Linked DNA regions of Homo sapiens: region 1 is linked to region 2. The links are contacts of gene promoters, found by promoter capture Hi-C in human tissues and cell types (Jung and others, 2019). All regions are on one chromosome and are shown on one strand. The core of a region is centred on a gene start or on the middle of the fragment in contact, and the rest is flanking DNA. Distances in the headings are between cores, read along the strand shown. Region 1 has its middle 160 kb from the start of LRP12. Region 2 holds the start of LRP12 (LDL receptor related protein 12).

The links. The method cuts DNA at HindIII sites, captures the fragments that hold promoters and counts their contacts. A contact is called where the count stands out against the background at its distance.
Region 1: a fragment that was not itself captured here is called in contact with the fragment with the promoter of LRP12 in region 2 in 1 of the 25 tissues and cell types used here (dorsolateral prefrontal cortex).

What each region holds. Positions count from the first base shown.
Region 1 is chr8:104,743,467-104,746,684 of GRCh38, forward strand. No RefSeq gene overlaps it. Among named protein-coding and RNA genes, the nearest start is that of LRP12, 160 kb to the left of the region's middle. The HindIII fragment of the contact is 3,950 bases long and covers 1-3,218 here.
Region 2 is chr8:104,588,007-104,591,277 of GRCh38, forward strand. LRP12 (LDL receptor related protein 12) reads right to left here and starts at 1,252. Exons shown (of 7, transcript NM_013437.5): 1 at 813-1,252. The coding sequence starts at 891. RefSeq lists silencers at 411-520, 951-1,290. The HindIII fragment of the contact is 16,882 bases long and covers 1-3,271 here.

The DNA of each region.
Region 1 (3,218 bases), core at 428-2,927, 160 kb after region 2:
ATTATTAATGTGTGGGAGTCTAAGTCTCTTTGTAGGTCACTCAGGACTTGCTTTATGAATCTGGGTGCTCCTGTATTGGGTGCATAAATATTTAGGATAGTTAGCTCCTCTTGTTGAATTGATCCCTTTACCATTATGTAATGGCCTTCTTTGTCTCTTTTGATCTTTGTTGGTTTAAAGTCTGTTTTATCAGAGACTAGGATTGCAACCCCTGCCTTTTTTTGTTTTCCATTGGCTTGGTAGATCTTCCTCCATCCTTTTATTTTGAGCCTATGTGTGTCTCTGCACGTGAGATGGGTTTCCTGAATACAGCACACTGATGGGTCTTGACTCTTTATCCAACTTGCCAGTCTGTGTCTTTTAATTGCAGAATTTAGTCCATTTATATTTAAAGTTAATATTGTTATGTGTGAATTTGATCCTGTCATTATGATGTTAGCTGGTGATTTTGCTCATTAGTTGATGCAGTTTCTTCCTAGTCTCGATGGTCTTTACATTTTGGCATGATTTTGCAGCGGCTGGTACCAGTTGTTCCTTTCCATGTTTAGCGCTTCCTTCAGGAGCTCTTTTAGGGCAGGCCTGGTGGTGACAAAATCTCTCAGCATTTGCTTGTCTATAAAGTATTTTATTTCTCCTTCACTTATGAAGCTTAGTTTGGCTGGATATGAAATTCTGGGTTGAAAATTCTTTTCTTTAAGAATGTTGAATATTGGCCCCCACTCTCTTCTGGCTTGTAGGATTTCTGCTGAGAGATCCGCTGTTAGTCTGATGGGCTTTCCTTTGAGGGTAACCCGAGCTTTCTCTCTGGCTGCCCTTAACATTTTTTCCTTCATTTCAACTTTGGTGAATCTGACAATTATGTGTCTTGGAGTTGCTCTTCTCGAGGAGTATCTTTGTGGCGTTCTCTGTATTTCCTGAATCTGAACGTTGGCCTGCCTTGCTAGATTGGGGAAGTTCTCCTGGATAATATCCTGCAGAGTGTTTTCCAACTTGGTTCCATTCTCCACATCACTTTCAGGTACACCAATCAGACGTAGATTTGGTCTTTTCACATAGTCCCATATTTCTTGGAGGCTTTGCTCATTTCTTTTTATTCTTTTTTCTCTAAACTTCCCTTCTCGCTTCATTTCATTCATTTCATCTTCCAATGCTGATACCCTTTCTTCCAGTTGATCGCATCGGCTCCTGAGGCTTCTGCATTCTTCACGTAGTTCTCGAGCCTTGGTTTTCAGCTCCATCAGCTCCTTTAAGCACTTCTCTGTATTGGTTATTCTAGTTATACATTCTTCTAAATTTTTTTCAAAGTTTTCAACTTCTTTGCCTTTGGTTTGAATGTCCTCCCGTAGCTCAGAGTAATTTGATCGTCTGAAGCCTTCTTCTCTCAGCTCGTCAAAATCATTCTCCATCCAGCTTTGTTCTGTTACTGGTGAGGAACTGCATTCCTTTGGAGGAGGAGAGGCACTCTGCATTTTAGAGTTTCCAGTTTTTCTGTTCTGTTTTTTCCCCATCTTTGTGGTTTTATCTACTTTTGGTCTTTGATGATGGTGATGTACAGATGGGTTTTCGGTGTAGATGTGCTTTCTGGTTGTTAGTTTTCCTTCTAACAGACAGGACCCTCAGCTGCAGGTCTGTTGGAATACCCTGCCGTGTGAGGTGTCAGTGTGCCCCTGCTGGGAGGTGCCTCCCAGTTAGGCTGCTCGGGGGTCAGGGACCCACTTGAGGAGGCAGTCTGCCCGTTCTCAGATCTCCAGCTGCGTGCTGGGAGAACCACTGCTCTCTTCAAAGCTGTCAGACAGGGACACTTAAGTCTGCAGAGGTTACTGCTGTCTTTTTGTTTGTCTGTGCCCTGCCCCCAGAGGTGGAGCCTACAGAGGCAGGCAGGCCTCCTTGAGCTGTGGTGGGCTCCACCCAGTTCGAGCTTCCCGGCTGCTTTGTTTACCTAAGCAAGCCTGGGCAATGGCGGGCGCCCCTCCCCCAGCCTCGCTGCCGCCTTGCAGTTTGATCTCAGACTGCTGTGCTAGCAATCAGCGAGATTCCGTGGGCGTAGGACCCTCTGAGCCAGGTGTGGGATATAGTCTCGTGGTACGCCGTTTCTTAAGCCGGTCTGAAAAGCGCAATATTCGGGTGGGAGTGACCCGATTTTCCAGGTGCGTCCGTCACCCCTTTCTTTGACTCGGAAAGGGAACTCCCTGACCCCTTGCGCTTCCCAGGTGAGGCAATGCCTCGCCCTGCTTTGGCTCGTGCACGGTGCGCACACACACTGGCCTGCGCCCACTGTCTGGCACTCCCTAGTGAGATGAACCCGGTACCTCAGATGGAAATGCAGAAATCACCCGTCTTCTGCGTCGCTCACGCTGGGAGCCGTAGACCGGAGCTGTTCCTATTCGGCCATCTTGGCTCCTCCTCCCTATTTTTTTATTTTTAGAGATGGAGCCTCACTCTGTCGCCTAGGCTGGAGTGCAGTGGTTCGTACAATCATAGCTCACTGCAGCCTCGAACTTCTGGGCTCAAGTGATCCTTCCAATGAGGCTACTATTTTGAGCAACGGCCTTCTTCCATCATTTTCAAGGTCAACAAACTTGACCATCCTAGAATTTTCTGGTCAGTAAGAAAAAATGTCCCAAGAGGGAGCTAGCATCTGTTAAGCTTCCACTAAGTGCCGGACAATACATGAGGAGCTGTATACATACATATGTGACCTATATTAATAGCTCTACAACACTTCTGTGCAACAAACATCATGTTTCTTTCTTTAAAAAAAAAAAAAAAATCTGATTATATATGGGTTGGTACAGGTCAGCCAGGATTGGTAAGAAATTCAATTTCCATTCTTGCTGGGGAGGACTAGGCCTCTTCCCTTCCCTTAGGAAAGCACTGTAACCTCAGGATTGACACGATCCAGGAAAGAATCCCTGGGCTTTGATCCATTATTATTTATTAAGATGCTTATATTCTGTGCCTTCTCCCTTTGTCAGCTAGTGCCCGGGACATTTCCCAGCCCTCTCAGTCTCGAAGTGTTCAGTGTTAAATCCCCACCTGTGCATTAGGCACCTCCATTAGGCCTTCTGTCATCTTTTGGTTGTGAGCATTAGGGAGGACGGAAAGTCTTATGGCCTGGGGCCTCTTGTGGAAGGTGAATATCCATATTGACTCTTTCTCTGCAAGGGCCCCTACAGGGACTTCTTGGGGATAGCCCCCTTCTAGATTAGACTGCCAAA
Region 2 (3,271 bases), core at 2-2,501:
ACCCCAACGCAATATAAAGCTGTCCGCACAGTCTTCAGCCTTCTCTTAACCCGAAAGGAGTTATCTCTAACCCGATCCATCGACTGGAATAAAGTAACAGTGACCACAGCGGCGGACGAGGATGGATGAAATTACAATTGAACTAGGAGTCAGGACAGATGTGTACACCCTAACAGGAGAGACTGAGGTGGGGCTGGAAACTATTTTCTGGCCTTCTCCCGCGTGCTGCTCCCGGGGAACCAACAGGACCCTGCACGCCCGGATTCGGCAGAGCCCTTGCCCCCGAGGTGGAGTGGGGAGAAGTCAGCGGGAAGCCTTTTCAGGGAATCGAGTAGGACAAGGGCTGGCGCGGTGGGAATCTCGCCGGTGAGAGAACTTCCTAACCCCGGGTTGAGGGGGCGGGGGGAAGGACCGTCCCGGCAGCGGCGGGGGCGAGCTCCTCTGCTTTCTCACAGTCAAGCATCTTTGTGTGTGGATTGTGCCAGGCTACGGGTCCTGGAGCAACTGGCCGCGGGGGCCCTCGAACCCAGGTCGGGAAGTCCGCCCGCCACCCCCTCGCTCCGCCGGGGCCCTCCCGGCCGGGCCCCCCAGCCCCTCTCCACCACCCGAGGGTCTGGAGGTGGACGAGTGGAGAAAAGCATCTCCGTGTGGGGACACCCGTTCCGCCACATCCACCCCCTCACCGGTCTTTGTCCCGCCGGTAGCCAGGGTCTCCGCGGGAGTCTCCAGGGGAACCCCCGTCCTGGAGGCCTCGGGGCCCGGGTCGCCTCAGCTTTGTTCGGTCAGCGGGGCGCGGGGACGCGGACACTTACCGTACACCCCAGCGAGGAAAAGCAAGAGCAACGCAGACCTCCACCGCGGAGACTCTTTTGTGCTCCAGCGACAGGCCATAACCACAGCAGATGGAGAGAGAGAGGAGGAGACGGAGGAGGAGGGAGGAGAAGCTGGAGGTAGACGACGCCGACGCCGCCGCCGCCGCCGCCGCCGCCGCCGAGCCACCGGCTGCTCCCTGCGCTCTCCGCGGCTGCGGGAGGGGGAAGGGAGGGGCCGCCGCCGCCCGCGCGCGCTCCCTCCTCCCTCCTCCCTCCGGCTCGCCTGCTCCCACCCCGGGCGGTGCGAGAGCCCCACGCGGGGCGGCCCTCCTGGGGGCAAGGGCAAGGAGCTCGCGCGCCAGCGCGAGACGAGAGGGTGGCGGACGCCGGACTCCGGCCTCGCGCCGCTCGGGCTAGCCGGCGCCGCCACTCGCCAGACTGAGCGCGCGCCCATCCGTGCGATCGGCAATCCCCTGGCCCGCCTGCCTCGGTTCCCTCCCCGCGCTCCGCTGGACTTTCCAAGTTTCGGGCCGATTTCCACGCGACGGGAGCCCAAGGAGCAAGGCAGCGCCAATCGATGACAGAGCGTGCGAACGCCGGCTGCTGGATGCCCAGGGGCTGGAGCGCGGGGTGTGTGGAGGAGCACGGTCGCTGTCCGAGGGCTGGGCTCTGGCCCAGCGGGTGGGGGGAGGGGGGGTGGGATACCAGCTGGGAGGCTGAAGGTGGTTCCGTGTTGGGGGAGGCGTGGATGGTCTGAAGCTGACAACTTGGGAGTTCCTTCCTCTATCCGGTACCCCCAAGTCTCCACTTGCTGTCGGCGCGGAGCTTCGAGTGGGGGTGGGCTCAAGTTAGTGCGGCCAACCTGGCAGCTGGTCGGTCAAGGGGCAGTGTGGACTCCCACGCTCAAGGTGCCCGGAATGAGTCGGGCAAGGCTTGTGCAGAGCCCCTCCAGTCTGGCGTGGAAGCGCCAAGAGGTCATTTGACATCTCACGCTGGGTCGGGTGCAGCTGGGCCAGGATGTTCGGCAGGGCTGGAGCCGACTTTCAGGGTAGATATATTGAAAGGAGGATTCGCCCATCACGCTGCAGTTTCCCTAAAGCTCTTTTCTCACTCCCAGCAAATGGGAGTCCTCCTTTACTTAGATCCCCAGAACACTTTTCTAAGTACGTCTGTAGTGACGCTGGCACATCAGACCTTACCCCCTGTGTTTTTAAAGCGTTTGTCTACAACGTCTTATTTATATTAGATTTTATCGTTGCCCTTTGCAAGCACTCTCCATGCTATTCATTGAAGACCTACACTGCATCATGCTGTCCTATTGACATAGGTTGTCACTTTTTAATCCCAAACATCCTTGTGAGATAAATATTACCCATGTTTTATAGAAAAGAGAGAAATTAAATTACTCATGGCAAGTAAGTTGTTTGAAACAGTTTTTCTCATTCCAAAGTAAAGATTGTTGCCCCTATACCACAGCAAACTCTCTAGCACAATGCTTAGCGCCTAGTAATGTGTCGGAGTTGGTGCCTGCCAGGGGGTTCGTGGTCTCCCTGACTTCAAGAATGAAGCTGCAGACCTTCCCGGTGACTGTTAACAGCTCTTAAAGATGGCACGGACTCAAAGAGTGAGCGGTAGCAAGGTTTATTGCGAAGAGCAAAAGGACAGCTTCCACAGCATGGAAGAGAACCCCAGGTGCTGGCTGGTGGTGGCCAGCTTTTATTCCCTTGTGGTCCCCTCCCATGTTCCATTTCTGTCCTATCGGAGTGCCCCTCTTTCAATCCTCCCTGCGATTGGCTACTTTTGGAATCCTGCTGATTGGTGCGTTTTACAGAGTGCTGATTGGTGCATTTTACAGAGCGCTGATTGGTGCATTTTACAATCCTCTTGTAAGACAGGAAAGTTCCTCAAGTCCCCACTGGACCCAGGAAGTTCAGCTGGCCTCACCTCTCAGTAAGTAAATGTTAAAATTTAAAACATACTTTCTGGGGAATACATTTAGGCTTTTCCTCAGTCTCCTGCCGATTTGCCCCCTTTTAAGTTTTTTTTTTTAAAACCAGGAAATGCTATTCCAAAAGATAAGAGAAAAATGTATTAATAAGTATTACAAAAATCTAATAATTAACAAATCTTATATCATCTGGTAAAAAAAGCAACCAGCACTCCAAAAATGTTTTCCATTCTTGTTGGAAAGAAGCAACTTCAGTGTTTTTCACTAAACAAATTGCAGTTGTCTTTCCTAATTTTGGGATTCTAAACTCTACTTTCTTGTTTCTTAAGATTGCTTTCTCTAAATTGCGCTTCCATGAGAGCTGTGTTAAGAACAGGCCACAAGCAGAGTGAAGGAGTAGACTGGACTGCATCCTCCCCTGTCCACTTTTAGTACCATTCAAGGAATCCTGTCCCGAACACGAGACACACAGTGCCCTCATCAGTTCCTGTCACACCCCTCCCACCCCTAC